Regions from separate parts of the Homo sapiens genome. Here all the other regions are linked to region 2. Evidence: promoter capture Hi-C in 16 types of primary human blood cells and fetal thymus (Javierre and others, 2016). All regions are on one chromosome and are shown on one strand. Each heading gives the region's core, a stretch centred on a gene start or on the middle of the fragment in contact. The rest is flanking DNA. Distances are from core to core; before and after follow the strand shown. Region 1 overlaps TIA1 (TIA1 cytotoxic granule associated RNA binding protein). Region 2 holds the start of GFPT1 (glutamine--fructose-6-phosphate transaminase 1). Region 3 overlaps TIA1 (TIA1 cytotoxic granule associated RNA binding protein). Region 4 holds the start of MXD1 (MAX dimerization protein 1).

Region 1 (3,278 bases), core at 333-2,832, 850 kb after region 2:
CTGTCTGTGGGAGAAGAAACACAAAAGCCAATTTTAAGCTTTATTCACCCATTACCTTAAAATTATGTAAAAAAAAAAATCTTAAACCAAGTTTTATACATCTAAGTTATCAGGCCATGGAGAATGAATGGTCTATTCCACAAGTAAATTTTAGATTTAAAAAAGTAGGCTGGGTGAGGTGGCTCACACCTGTAATCCCAGCACTTTGGGAGGCCAAGGCAGGTGGATCATGAGGTCAGCAGTTTGAGACCAACTTGGCCAACGTGGTGAAACCCTGTCTCTATTAAAAAAAAATACAAAAATTAACCAGGCATGGTGGCAGGCTCCTGTAATCCCACCTACTCGGGAGGCTGAGGCAGGAGAATTGCTTGAACCCGGGAGGTGGAGGTTGCAGTAAGCTGAGACTGCGCCACTGCACTCCAGCCTGGGCGACAGAGCAAGACTCCGTCTCAAAAACAAACAAACAAAAAAGTAAACAGCCAGCTCCTGTAGTCCCAGCTACTTTAGGAGGCTGAGGTGGGAGGAATGCTTGAGCCCAGGAGTTTGAATCCAGCCTGGGCAACACAGCAAGATCCTGTCTCTAAAATAATTAAAAAGTAAAAAAAAAAAAGCAAACACTTAAAATCACACTGCTTTTATACATAGCTATTTTCTTCAACAGGTTATACTATAGTACTATAATTTAATATTAATGACTAGGTATCCTAACTGGATATATAGCTACACATACCCCATCATCATATAACCATTTGTTCAAGCTACACAGATTAAGTTTGACTGAACTCCTAAGTTCTGAAGTCTCACTTCGGCTTTTTATGATTTTTCTATCCCCTCCCTGTTATAAGTTACTTTTTACTGCTACAAATGTACATTGCTCCTTGCTGCTACTAGCTTGCTGAGTAGCAGAAAATCTTAGCCAACCTTCTTAAACCTGTTTTAAAATATAGGTAAATAGGCTCTGAAAACTGAAGAGATTCTCTGGTAAGTAAAATTTTAGAATAAGTTTTAGAATGTGAACTTTCTGACATCAATTTTTTGCTTGCTCAGAAGCCTTTAAAAAATTATCTTCCCGCCAGGCGCAGTGGCTCATGCCTGTAATCCCAGCACTTCGAGAGGCCGAGGCAGGCGGATCATGAGGTCAGGAGATCGACACCATCCTGGCTAGCACGGTGAAACCCCGTCTCTACTAAAAATACAAAAAATTAGCCGGGCCTGGTGGCGGGCGCCTGTAGTCCCAGCTACTCAGGAGGCTAAGGCAGGAGAATGGCGTGAACCCAGGAGACGGAGCTTGCAGTGTGCAGTGAGCCGAGATTGCACCACTGCACTCCAGCCTGGGCGACAGAGCGAGACTCTGTCTCAAAAAAAAAAAAAAAAAGAAAAAAGAAAAAAGAAAAAAAATTATCTTCCCAGCCAGGCATGATGGCTCACACCTGTAATCCCAGCACTTTGGGAGGCCAAGGTGGGCTGATCACCTGAGGTCAGGAGTTTGAGACCAGCCTGACCAACATGGTGAAACCCTGTCTCTACTAAAAATACAAAATTAGCCGGGCGTGGTGGTGCATGCCTGTAATCCCAGCTACTCGGGAGGCTGAGGCAGGAGAATCGCTTGAACCCTGGAGGCGAAGGTTGTGGTGAGCCGAGATTGCGCCATTGCACTCCAGCCTGGGCAACAAGAGTGAAACTCTGTCTCAAAAAAAAAAAAAAAAAAAAAAAAAAAAAAAAAATTATCTTCCCTTGGCCGGGCACAGTAGCTCATGCCTGTAATCTCAGCACTCTGGGAGGATGAGGCAGGTGGATCACCTGAGGTCAGGAGTTCGAGACTAGCCTGGCCAAAATGGTGAAACCTCATCTCTACTAAAAATACAAAAATCAGCTGGGTGTGGTGGCGTGTGCTTGTAATCCCATCTACTCGGGAGGCTGAGGCAGGAGATTCGCTTGAACTCAGGAGGGGGACGTTGCAGTGAGCCAAGATGGTGCCACTGGATTCCAGTCTGGGCGCACAGCGAGACTCTGTCTCAAAAAAAAAAACAAAACTTCCCTTTTCTGCTGGTGTTCCAGGTAGGTGAGGCTATGTGATAAATAGAACCTGGATGTTTAATTATAAATTCAAGTAGCAGAAAAAAATTCCAATTTTTACACCTACAGTGCAAAATATCAAATGACATTATAGGCCATTTTAAAATTCTTTCCATAGCCTCCTAAACAGATTTGTTAAAATAAAAAACTAATTCAAAAGACTAGAAAGCTACTAAAATAGAGGAATATACAATTTTATTTCAAGTACAGTTAATTAATTTTTTTTTAGAGATGTGGTCTTGTTATGTTGCCCAGGCTGGTCTCAAATTCCTGGGCTCAAGTGATCCTCCAGCCTCTGCCTCCCAAAGTGTTGGGATTACAGGCATCAGTCACTGTGCACATCAACAATTAATAGTTTGAGAGTCACTGGCAATGACTTGTAAAAATTTTAAAGCAACGAGGCCAAGACAAAGTTTAATATATTGGGACTATATTTTGTCTAAAAAAATTAGAGAATAAAAATGTTATATAACTCAAACTAATAAAACACAATGGGAATTCTATTACCAAGATCAATGCTGACAGGCAACACTGAAATGAAGTTAGAAAAAGTCACTTGCGGCTGGCTGTGGTGGCTCACGCCTGTAATCCCAGCACTTTGGGAAGCTGGGGTGGGCGGATCATGACATCAGGAGATCAAGACCACCTGGCCAACATGGTGAAACCCTGTCTCTACTGAAAATACGAAAACTAGCCAGGTGTGGTGGCGCATGCCTGTAATCCCAGCTACTTAGGAGGCTGAGGCAGGAGAATAGCTTGAACCTGGGAGGCAGAGTTTGCAGTGAGCTGAGATCATGCCATTGCACTCCAGCCTGGGCAACAGAGTGAGACTCTGTCTAAAAAAAAAAAAAGAAAAAGTCACTTGCATTTAAGAGTAAATAAATGAAAAAGAATATGCTTTACTTAATTTATATGCAGAAAAAACTAACTTTTTAAATAAGAATCGAAGCATATATACATATTATCAGTCCAGGGAGCATAAAATTTATAAATGTGAACATTAGTCTCAGAATGTGAACAGACTGGAATTTAGATTTGAATAATAAAAATCTAAGCTTTTGAGCGATCAGAATCCACAAATGATAAAAAGTGGCAAAGGCTAACCTGGTTTTTTCTGTAGCCAAGGCAATCATTAACGTTTTGTCTAATGATCTTTCCCCAGGGAAACATATGACCAGCCAGAGAGAGAGTAGCAGCAGGCA
Region 2 (3,310 bases), core at 582-3,081:
TGTATTTTTAGTAGACATGGAGTTTCACCACGTTGGCCAGGCTAGTCTTGAACTCCTGAGCTCAGGTGATCCACCTGCCTCGGCCTCCCAAAGTGCTGAGATTATAGGCGGGAGCCACCACGCCCAGCGCTGATTTATTTATTTATTTATTTTTTTTTCAGTAAGTACTTTGACTACGTTTTTTTCTTGGAACATGATGAAATGACCTGCAACCAGAATGTTGAGTACTTGATGAGGCACACCCCTCATCATTCAGGAACAGTTAACTACCAAATGAAGCACACTGGAGATTGACCAGTTTGCAAATTCACTACTTCACAGCTCCAAACTAAATGCAAAACCATTCTACTAAGTAGACACTGCAAAAGTCTGATTCTGAAGTCAGCTCTACTCTAATAATTTCAGTAAGCTATTTATAGGTGTTTCTGTTTTTATGTGGGTTTTTTTTTAATCTACTCTAAATTTAAACCTGCTCCTCATTTTCAGAAGCTGAAATGAGCATAAAGTTAAATACAGGAAATATATACACTAACGAGTACAATCCACCTCCTGTTCAGTTCCTTCGTGTAAAAGGCTGCAAATAAGAAGTCTCCCAGAGAGTTTTCAATTCTCTTACAATGGTACTTCCCTTTAAAAAAAAAAAAAAAAAGTGTACTTTCTTCCAGGGATAAAGTCGGTTGTAAATTTCAATAAGAAAGGTAAGAATACAATTATTTTTACTGGCAATAGCCAAATTAACACCAATTTTAGAAGATATCAGTCATGTCAGACACGATTCTCAAAGTCTCTTTCACTAACACTTAGGTCATAATAAACGACTCTCAAAACATGGAATAAAAGGGCCTAACCTTAATTTTTTAAGGCTCTAGGAAAGATATTTGCTCAACTTTCCATAGCTAGTATTTTTAATGGATGCACATGCAAGGGATAAATGATATTTTTCATAGTTGGTATTCTAAAGGGGTATACATCCAAGGTATAACTGATATTTTTCAGAGCTGGCATTTTTAATGGGTGCACACGCAAATGATAAATTATGTATAACCTATCGCCACAGACATTTGAAGGCCTCTTCCACCAGAGGATCAGGTCTAAGCCCATGAACCAAGTTATTGATTAGCAATGGTTTCTGTTGAGACAAGGGATGGCAGGAAGTATCACGTTTAATGGCACTACCGTGGCTCTAGCTAGGGTCTGTTTTCTATTGGGCCTCCCCAGAAACAAGTAAAATATTTTTTTAAAGATTTTTAGAAAAATGCAAGGTAAGTTCAAGAGACCTCGCCCGAGGTTCCACAGGTTTCCTCACTCACCTGGTGGGCCCTTTTGAAGGCAACCCCCTCCACACCTCAATTCCCTCAGCTCTCTCCTCCTTTTTCAATAAAGGCGTTTCTCTCCCCTTTCGGTTCCTTCTCCGCGCCAAGGCGCCCGCTAGCCCCCGGCAAAGGGGGCCCGCCTTCCTCTCAGGTGCCTTTCTCCCGGCCGCCACCCCCTCTCCCGCCCGTGGATGCCGGCCCCCGCCCCCGCAGCCACCACTGGGCGCCCCTTGCCCATCACCCAGACTTCGCACCCTCCACACTCCCGCTTCCGCCCGTCGCCTTGGGCCTTAGCGGCACCCGCACCGCACCCCAGCGCCACCCGGCAACACGCCCCCCGCTCCCGGCCCCCTTACCACACATGATGCCGGAGACACGGCCCGCGAGGCCAGGGGCGAGTGGCTGGCGGGATCGGGGGTGCACACACGAGCTTCGGTGGGCAATCTGCGGGCTCGGGGGCCGGGGTGGCGCCGACACGACTCCCTCGGGGATGCGACGGCCAAGGCAACGACAGCCTTCTCCGCCTCCCGGGCTCCGCCAGCAACCGCCGCCGGGCCCCGCCCCTCGGCGCGCAGCGCGCCGCCGCCCGTAGGCTCCATTGAACCGCTCACGCGCCGCTCACGCGCAAGTCCCGCCTCCCAGCGCTGCCCCGCCCCCCGAGCCCACGCAGGCGCTGGACTGCTGGCGGCGGCGACGTGGCAGTGGCTCGTGGCCGCGTCCGCCTGGAGTTCCTGGAGACGCCCGCCCCGGGGCGAGCCGCGGGAGGGACCGAGCCGAGAGGGAGGGAGAAACTCAGCACCTGGCAGGGAATGACGGAAAGAGAAGGATGGAATTGTTAGCAAAGCAATAGCCCGGGTGCGTGCCCCGTGCAGCCCCAGGCCCCAGGCGCCAGCACTGCACGAAGCGAGGAAAGAGGAGGAAAAAAGCAGGAAGTATGAAAAGGGAATCCTGGGGAACATAAGGCTGAAAAAAATTGCAAAGAATTAGGTTGAGGTGGGAGGAGAGAGATAACAAAATTCTTGACTGTAAAGCCCCAAAGGTCAGCCTCTCTGGTAATAAGCAATTCAATTCCTTGTGTAATATGCTTGGCCCCTAAAAGCCCTCCGCATCCGTTGCCTCCATAACCCTCAGTTTATTGTGGAGGGGTAGAGGAGGAATGTAAGGCTCAACTATCCGACTATGAGCCTGGACGTAAGAAACTGCTGGCCCACCTCCTCCCATGACCCACCTGAGACGGCTAGGAATTCCCTAGCTTTAACAGCCGCGCGTTTGACTTACGAACGATTCATTCTATGAATTAATGCGCCATGTCTGACAAGAGAGACTTGATTAGAGAGGGATGATGTTTCTGAGAATTTATTACCTGGGCATTTGCTTTAAACAGCCTTAAATGGTATCTTTAGTCAAATGTGGAGTAATCAGAACTCTATAATGGCTCTAGAGTAGAGTAGTATCAAAAACGTACATGGCACACAGAATTCCTGGAGTGCTGACTGCTGTTCATGTGTCTGGTCTTAGCCTGCTGACTGCTGTTCATGTGTCTGGTCTTAGCCGTCCTTCCAGCCCTATACACTCCCAACAGGCTCAACAGGTAGTTCCTCAACTGGGCCAAGATTCTCAAATCTTTTGCACACTTTGGTTACTCTGCATAGAATCCCCACCACGTCTCTGTTTAGATGCTACCTCTTCAGGAAAGCCTTTTTTATCCCCCCTAGACAGACTTGGAGACATGCATTAACCTCTTACTCTTTGAGCTACTCACTGTAAAGAAATATTCTTTGATATTTTATGATTTTCTGTATTTTCCCACTGGGCTGTAAGTTTCTTGAAGCTAGAACTAGATTTTACATACCCAACACTTTTAGACCACAGCACAAAGTAAAAGATCAAATTTATTTTGGAATGAGTGAAAAAAAGTCCTATTTTCTTAGCGGAATTAACCTTCTATGGCTGGTTATATGATTAAGTGAGCATAAGGCTTTCAGTTCTTCTTACGG
Region 3 (3,694 bases), core at 860-3,359, 830 kb after region 2:
AAGAAAGCTATCCATCTCATCTCTATGCCTTGGTTGAACATATTTGCTGAGGAAACCACTACCTGAAAGAGTCAGGTAGGTTCCCTACAACGAAAAAGGAACATTATACTACTCAAAGAAGAAATCAAAACAATTATTAGCATATGAAAGCTCATAAAAATTCATAACATTACAAGATTTTCTTTTCTTTTCTTTTTTTTTTTTTTTTAAGACAGGTTTTCATTGTGTCACCCAGGCTGGAGTACAGTGGTATGATCTCAGCTCACTGCAACCTACGTCTCCCCAGGCTCAAGCGATTCTCCTACCTCAGTCTCCCGAACATCTGGGATTATAGGCACGCAACCACCATGCCTGGCTAATTTTTTTTGTACCTTTTGTAGAGATGAGATTTCGCCATGTTGCCCAGGCTGATCTTAAACTCCTGGACTCAAGTGATCCGCCTGCCTTGGCCTTCCAAAGTGCTAGGATTATAGGCATGAGCCACCATGCCCAACCACAAAATCCTTTTTTTTTTTTGAGACAGAGTCTTGCTCTGCTGCCCAGGCTGGAGTGCAGTGGTGTAGTCTCAGCTCACTGCAACCTCCGCCTCCCAGGTTCAAGTGATTCTCCTGCCTCGGCCTCCCAAATAGCTGGAACTACTGGTGTGCACCACTACACCTGGCTAATTTTTGTATTTTTAGCAGAGGTGGGGTTTCGCCATGTTGGCCAGGCTGGTCGCAAACTCCTGGCCTCAAGTGATCCACCCACTTCAGCCTCCCAAAATGCTGGGATTACAGGCAGGAACTACCACGCCCAGCCCACTAAATTCCTTTTTAACCTCTCAAGTATTTTTATTTCCAGTGTGTTTTTCAGAAATGTAAGTAAAATAGTGTAATTCAGGGTGTATAAGGAAGCTTGCAATGTAACAAGGCATATTGAAAAAACCCTTTGTACAGAAAAAAGCATAATGAATACAACAACTAGCATCAAACTCAGTGTATATAAGAATGGCTAAGTGACCATTAGTCATGTGAAAAGCTTAACAACTATTAAGCTCTTATTTTCTTACTAAAAAACAATTTTAAGTTCTTTCAAGGCTATAGTTACGCTTTACATAAGAGGCCCTATTACCCACTAATTCTTAAAATTTCTTCCTACTTAAAATTTCTTTAGACATTTTCAAAGGTTAGTAAAGGAAGACATAAGATATGCTTACTTAAATCCTTGCTGGTTCCATGCCTGGCCATACATTCCATATGCAGGAACTTGCCAACCATTAGGCATATACTGGCCAATTTGTTGTGCATTTCCATACCACTGGCCCCACTGGCCATAAGGTTGGGGATATCCAATTTGATTCTGCTATTAAATAAAATTTAGTATTACTTGAAGTTAACTATATATATACAATCCTAATATGCTGATACCACAAATTCTTAGCCAAAACACACAGGGCCATCATTACAATTAAAATGACAGGATAAACAAGAGTTGACTGCTAAAAAAAAAAAAAAAAAAAAAAAAAACAAAAAACAACAACAAAACAAGTGAGGTTATACTGCTGTAACTCTACGTGATACTCTGAATGGCATAGTTTTTGGAAGGCATCAGTTGATACCCTAGTAATAAATGTTAAACTTAGTAGAATGTTTAAGTGTTTGGTATACTATCTACATGATTGTTTCCTTTAGATAGGGAAGATGTGATTAATTATTTCTATATTCAGCTTACTTAAGACACTTATATAGTTTAGGATTTGCTTACTCCCATCTCTGTGCTCCATTTACAGTTTCCTCATAGAAATCTTTGTGGAATCAAGTTTGAACCACTAAAGCTGCCTGGAAAAAAAAGGCAGCAAAATCTGGAAGAAAAATGCCAAGGCCATAACTATATTTACAGCTTTATTTTTGTTTCAGTTGAGTCAAGCATGCTTGTGAGTTCTCCAAATGGTATGTGAATAAATCTACCAAGTATTAAAAAAAGATGTAATACCCTTTTAGGTTTCTCGGAGCATTTTAAAATCCACTGTGTGAGCATGAGTCAATTGAGGCGGTCACATTCATCATGTCACCACTGCAATCCATGAAACACCATTCTGGAACTATAATACATGTAGGAAGAGCCCTTATATACTATCATTTTAGCTAGAAACTTATTAACAAGGATTATCAACAATCTTCACCTTAAAATAACATTATTAGCCCAACAATTACTTCTCAAAGTTAAGAACCCTCTCACCTGTTGCACGGGATTTATCATATCAAGAGTTTCTTTGCCCCAATAGCATTTCACAACATGACCTTCAATGGTAGTACCATTAACAGAAACAATTGCATGTGCTGCACTTTCATGGGAATTGAACCTATTGAAAACAATATTAAGAATCACCAATACAAATTCTTTTAAATATTTATGAATAAAACCTATTTTTAAAAATCAAGGTGAGTCTGAGGTAAAACAGTTTGCGTAACATGGCATATTTTCTTTGCTATTTTTTTCAAAGATCTTGTAGTTCTGGGGCAACTTGTGTTAACAAAGAATGTGTGTTTCACTGGCCTTGTGTTAGGGAGGGAGCTATAAAATCACAGAGGCAAATACGCTGGATGCTAGAGAAATTTCAATTTTTTTTTTTTGAGATGGTGTCTGGCTCTGTTGCCCATGCTGGAGTGCAGTGATTGTGATCTTGGCTCACTGCAACCTCCACCTCCTGGGTTCAAGTGATTCTCCTGCCTCAGCCTCCCGAGTAGCTGTGATTACAGGCATGCACCGCCATGCCGGCTAATTTTTATATTTTTGTATTTTTAGTAGAGACGGGGTTTCACAATGTTGGCCAGGCTGGTCTCAAACTCATGACGGTGATCCACCCGTCTCGGCCTCCCAAAGTGCTGGGAATACAGGCGTGAGCCACCGCACCCGGCCAAAATTTCAACTTTTTTATAACCAAGGTAAATTTTTAAGAAAACGAGGTAAATGTTCAAAAAATATTTTGGAGGAAAAAGTTTTTTATTTTTATTTATTTTCTGGTTTTCCAGTTACATTACCAAGAAAAATGTTTTTTTAAAAAACCATCCCTACCGAACAAATGAATATCCTTTATCTGGAAAGACTCGAATTTCCATTATTTGTCCAAATGGTGAAAAAGTCTGACGCATTAGTTGTTCTGTTAGACAAAAAACCAAAACAAACAAATCACACTAAGTTATATAAAAATCCTACAAATATTAAGCTTTGCACTTTAAAAATTAATGCCACACAGGGAAGGCTCCCATACCTGTTAGCCCAGAAGTAACACCTCCACAGTATACAGTACAGTTGCTTGGACTAGACTGATTTACAACCTCATCATATGATAGCTGTTTGGTATTTGCTGGTGAGAGAAAAGGTTTATGTCTTTAATTCATTAAATAAAATGTGCAGAAAGAGAAAAGTAGCATTCACTACACTACTGTAAAGGTAACATTAACCTTGATCAAAATGCTTATATTACACATATTATACTTCAGTTCAGAATTAAACCTCCCCCACGAATGTCTAAAAAATTACCCAGTATTTTCTATTTAATAGGAGACTTGACATTAGAAATAATATTATTTATAATTACAAAAATGAAAACTAAGTACATTTTTGAATAGTAGTCTTGATTTGCTTCTCATCTATTTCTGCAATAAGTCTCCGGGAACAGCTCTAACATTTAAAATCTAGCGTATTTTTCTCC
Region 4 (3,618 bases), core at 40-2,539, 530 kb after region 2:
TGGTGGGCACCTGTAATCCCAGCTACTCAGAAGGTTGAGGCAGGAGAATCGCTTGAACCCGGGAGAAGGAGGTTGCAGTGAGCCGAGATCGCGCCATTGCACTCCAGCCTGGGCGACAAGAGCAAAACTCCCTTTCAAAACAAACAAACAAAAACAATAATCTTGTGAGTGTTTTCATCTAGAATTAAAAGGGAGGGGAAAACCCCAAAAGAGATTTAAGCAAAGAATCTTAGGGTTTAATGCCATTCTGTAGGTTCAGGAAGTCTCTGAGCTTTAAAAAGCCGCTCGCGTGAAAGTAATTAATTATTCCATCACTTCCCGGGGGTGGAGGGGGGTGCGGAAAAGGCGCATGAGCTCAATGCTGTATACTGCAGCCCGATTCCAGCTCTTTCTTGAGGGCAGAAAAAACGCCGAGCGGCGAGCATTTAACAACGGCCGGCTTTTCTTCTCAAGCCCCGCAGCAGCCACGTGGCGCCTGCCCTAGCTCCCGGCTCACCGGCCACTAGCCTGCACCGCTCTTCGGGAGGATTCGAGGCTGGGCCCTCGCCAGCCCGAGTTCCGCGAAGCCCAGAACCTCCAGGGCCGCGGCCACCAGACCGAGGGCTCCGGCCCCGAACCCAAGCGGGGCAGAGCGCCCAGGCGACACGAGGTGCCAGCCTTCCATTCGATGGACGCCTGGCAGGTCCCCGGAAGTTTTCCCCGGGGACAGGTCTTGGCAACAGGTCCGAGGCAAGGCCGGGTGGAGCAGAGCTCCGCAGCGGCTGGTGAATCAGCGCCGCCCAGCGCCGGACCGGCCCTCCCAGCCAATGCCAGACCCGGTGAGGAGCAGCCAGGCTGCTGACCATCAGCCACTTAGGGCTCGCCTGGCCTGGAGAAAGGTGACATCATCGTAGCTGGGAGGTTTCCGAAGGCTTCACCAATGGGAGACCGGCGAGGTGCTTGCCTTCTGCAGCTCTTGGCCAATACTAACAAAGCAAAAGGGGGCCCGGGTTGTTGGTATAGAACCAATGGGAAACAAGGAAGGAGCACGAGGCGGAGTTGCGAATCCTGTCACCAGTTGGAAAGAGGGGGTGGAGCCCGGGCCTTGTCAAGTGTGACCAACCAGCGAGAGGAGCGGACTTTGCGGGGTGGAGCCCTGAAGCCCTCTCCCAATCGCACAAGTGTAGGGGCGGGGCATTCTTTGGGGGGCCCAATGAGGAACGCGGCCGAAGCTGGCCTGTCAAGAGAAGGGGCTGGGGGCGGGGAGATGGTGAGTCGGGGATAAACACTCCGCGGCGGTGGCGGCTGCTGCTCTGCTCCGGGTTCTGTCACTGTGTCGGCGGTGCCCAGCTCACTGGCCCCCTCCCTCTCTTGTCGAGCGTGGTTGCCAGAGAGGCTCCCTCAGCCCTGCTCCGCGGGGTCCACAGCGGGCTCCACAGCGGGCTCCATAGCGGGCTCCACAGCGGTCCGGCGGCGGCAGCGAGCCCGTGGGCAGTGGGGGTTGGTCCCGTGGCTCCGGCCCCCGGTGCAGAATGGCGGCGGCGGTTCGGATGAACATCCAGATGCTGCTGGAGGCGGCCGACTATCTGGAGCGGCGGGAGAGAGGTGCACGGGGACGGGGAGGGGTCCACTCGAAACGAGGCCGGGGGTCCTGTGGGGCCGGCCTCAGGTCCGGGCGCCCAGCCGCTCCGGGGGTGGTTGGAGGCGGGGAGACCGCGAGCGCTCCCAACCCCTCTGGCTCTCCCCACGCGCGGTCCGAAGGGAAGCCGCCGCTGCCCCAAAGCAATGAATGGGGTGGAGAAGGGGCTGCCGCCCGCCGGGGTCCCGAACGCCGCCCCTTCCCCAGCCCTTCACGAGTGGGTGGCCGGGGCCCCCTCCGATAGCCTCCCTGGTTTACCTCACCCGGGCTGGTCCCGGCCGGCCCCCAGGTGGGCCCGGCGCCCCAGTCTCCTGGGCAGAGGAGCAGCGCCTCCCGGTCCCCGGCTCACGGTGCTTGCCCCGCACCTTCGCCTGAGCTGGTTCCACTTAACCCGCACCAACCTGCTGGATGTAGCCAGTGGGAAACCCAGGCTGCGTGAGCCTAGCCACTACTGTGTCTTTCTCAACAATGAGCAGCTGGAATCCTCCTTACACCTGCTCCGAATTGACGATATTCACACAATTTTTTTTTAAATCATTGTTCTCAGAATTCCACCTTACTCCATTTAATTATTTCCACAATATTCTTTTAAAGATAAATAAAGGAAAAAGGAAATACTGTAGAGAGGAGAGAGCATTAAATATTCTGGGCCCATTCATTAACTGGATCCTCCTGTTTTCTAGAAGCTGAACATGGTTATGCCTCCATGTTACCATACAATAACAAGGACAGAGATGCCTTAAAACGGAGGAACAAATCCAAAAAGAATAACAGCAGTAGCAGGTAATTTGGTAAATACTTCTTTCTGTCTTTTAGATTATATTGTAGGTGACACAAACTGCTGAATGTAAGTTTTCTGTTGTGATTATAACCCTATAAAATTACATTGTGGCCGTCATGATTCAGTAATGTACACATGGACTTAAGCCATTGCAGGAAGCTGTTTCTGTTTGGGTTGAGGGAACTGAAAAGAAAAATAGAAATGTTTTACATTTCTTTATGAACTTTATTCAAAATTTAATTTCACTTTTCTTCCCTTTTGGAACAAAAAAATCTGTGGAAGCTTCAAGTGAGATTAGCAATGGTGACAGTATTTTCCCTTCAGAAGTTGCAGATTCAGGGCAAGTTTTCTATAAGTCAAAATGCTGGACATTATCCATTTCTTTTACTTTTCATAGTAATGATTTTATAAACACATTAAAGTACCTGACTTGGCATAAGTGATAGGATCTCATACTTGACATGTAAATTAAATACAGTGGTTTGTTTGATACTCTAATTTGTCATCTCTATTTGTAATGGCAAAGAGGAATGATTGAGGTTAAAACCTACCTCTTTAGTGATAGAGGAATATATAATACCAAAATATTAATATGCTACAACTTTTCCATGTTAGCCTTATCGATTATCTTATACCGTAGTTCTTAAAAGCTGTGAATCTCACTGGAGATTTGGTTCATGGTCAGTTAAATCACATATTAAAGTCCTATGCATAGTTTCTGGTACATGCAAATAGTCCATCAATGTTGCTGCCCGTTTCCCCCCTTCTTTGCCCTTAAAATATAGTTGGCTAGGAAATTTGTTCTATTAGATCCCTTCAACTATACCTTTCCTGCCAGTAAATTAAAAGCATTGACCTTTTCGTCACTAGTTTAGAATCCTTATCCCTCCCTCACCCTCATGAATAACTCCTTGCAAGTATCTATTTGGATATCCTCTGTGGCTTAATACAGACCAGGAATTTCCCACTTAAACCTAAAAATCACTTGTTCTTGCTGCGTCTTCTGTACTTGGTTTACCTCTTTAGTATCGTTAGTGGAACCACAGGATGTGAGCAGCATTACTTGTGCCATGCCCTTGAATAAAAATGGCACTTGAAGGATCAACCTGGTAATTACCTGGTAGGTTTTGCTTGTCCTCCCACCTTAGCATTACCTGAAGGTGGTAGCCAGTAGTTTTGTGCATGGGTATGAAGGCACTTTAAGAAAGATGTTAATACT

Evidence for each region. The method cuts DNA at HindIII sites, captures the fragments that hold promoters and counts their contacts. A CHiCAGO score of 5 or more calls a contact.
Region 1: a fragment that was not itself captured here is called in contact with the fragment with the promoter of GFPT1 in region 2 in 1 of 17 cell types (naive CD8 T cells); the score reaches 5.6 in naive CD8 T cells.
Region 3: a contact is called between a fragment that was not itself captured here and the fragment with the promoter of GFPT1 in region 2, in 1 of 17 cell types (naive B cells). The highest score is 5.6, in naive B cells.
Region 4: a contact is called between the fragment with the promoter of MXD1 here and the fragment with the promoter of GFPT1 in region 2, in 3 of 17 cell types (naive CD8 T cells, total B cells and naive B cells). The highest score is 7.5, in naive CD8 T cells.

Annotation. Positions count from the first base shown.
Region 1 is chr2:70,230,851-70,234,128 of GRCh38, forward strand. TIA1 (TIA1 cytotoxic granule associated RNA binding protein) reads right to left here. Exons shown (of 13, transcript NM_022173.4): 3 at 1-4. Among named protein-coding and RNA genes, the nearest start is that of TIA1, 16 kb to the right of the region's middle. The HindIII fragment of the contact is 3,093 bases long and covers 37-3,129 here.
Region 2 is chr2:69,385,396-69,388,705 of GRCh38, forward strand. GFPT1 (glutamine--fructose-6-phosphate transaminase 1) reads right to left here and starts at 1,832. Exons shown (of 20, transcript NM_001244710.2): 1 at 1,670-1,832. The coding sequence starts at 1,676. RefSeq lists silencers at 1,412-2,081, 2,142-2,251 and an enhancer at 1,624-2,183. The HindIII fragment of the contact is 6,543 bases long and covers 1-3,310 here.
Region 3 is chr2:70,213,154-70,216,847 of GRCh38, forward strand. TIA1 (TIA1 cytotoxic granule associated RNA binding protein) reads right to left here. Exons shown (of 13, transcript NM_022173.4): 9 at 3,251-3,346; 10 at 3,055-3,139; 11 at 2,218-2,341; 12 at 1,196-1,341. Among named protein-coding and RNA genes, the nearest start is that of C2orf42, 24 kb to the left of the region's middle. The HindIII fragment of the contact is 2,188 bases long and covers 1,016-3,203 here.
Region 4 is chr2:69,913,820-69,917,437 of GRCh38, forward strand. MXD1 (MAX dimerization protein 1) reads left to right here and starts at 1,290. Exons shown (of 6, transcript NM_002357.4): 1 at 1,290-1,584; 2 at 2,302-2,401. The coding sequence starts at 1,512. RefSeq lists enhancers at 454-503, 516-1,121, 604-713, 814-1,013 and a silencer at 1,664-1,893. The HindIII fragment of the contact is 7,248 bases long and covers 1-2,679 here.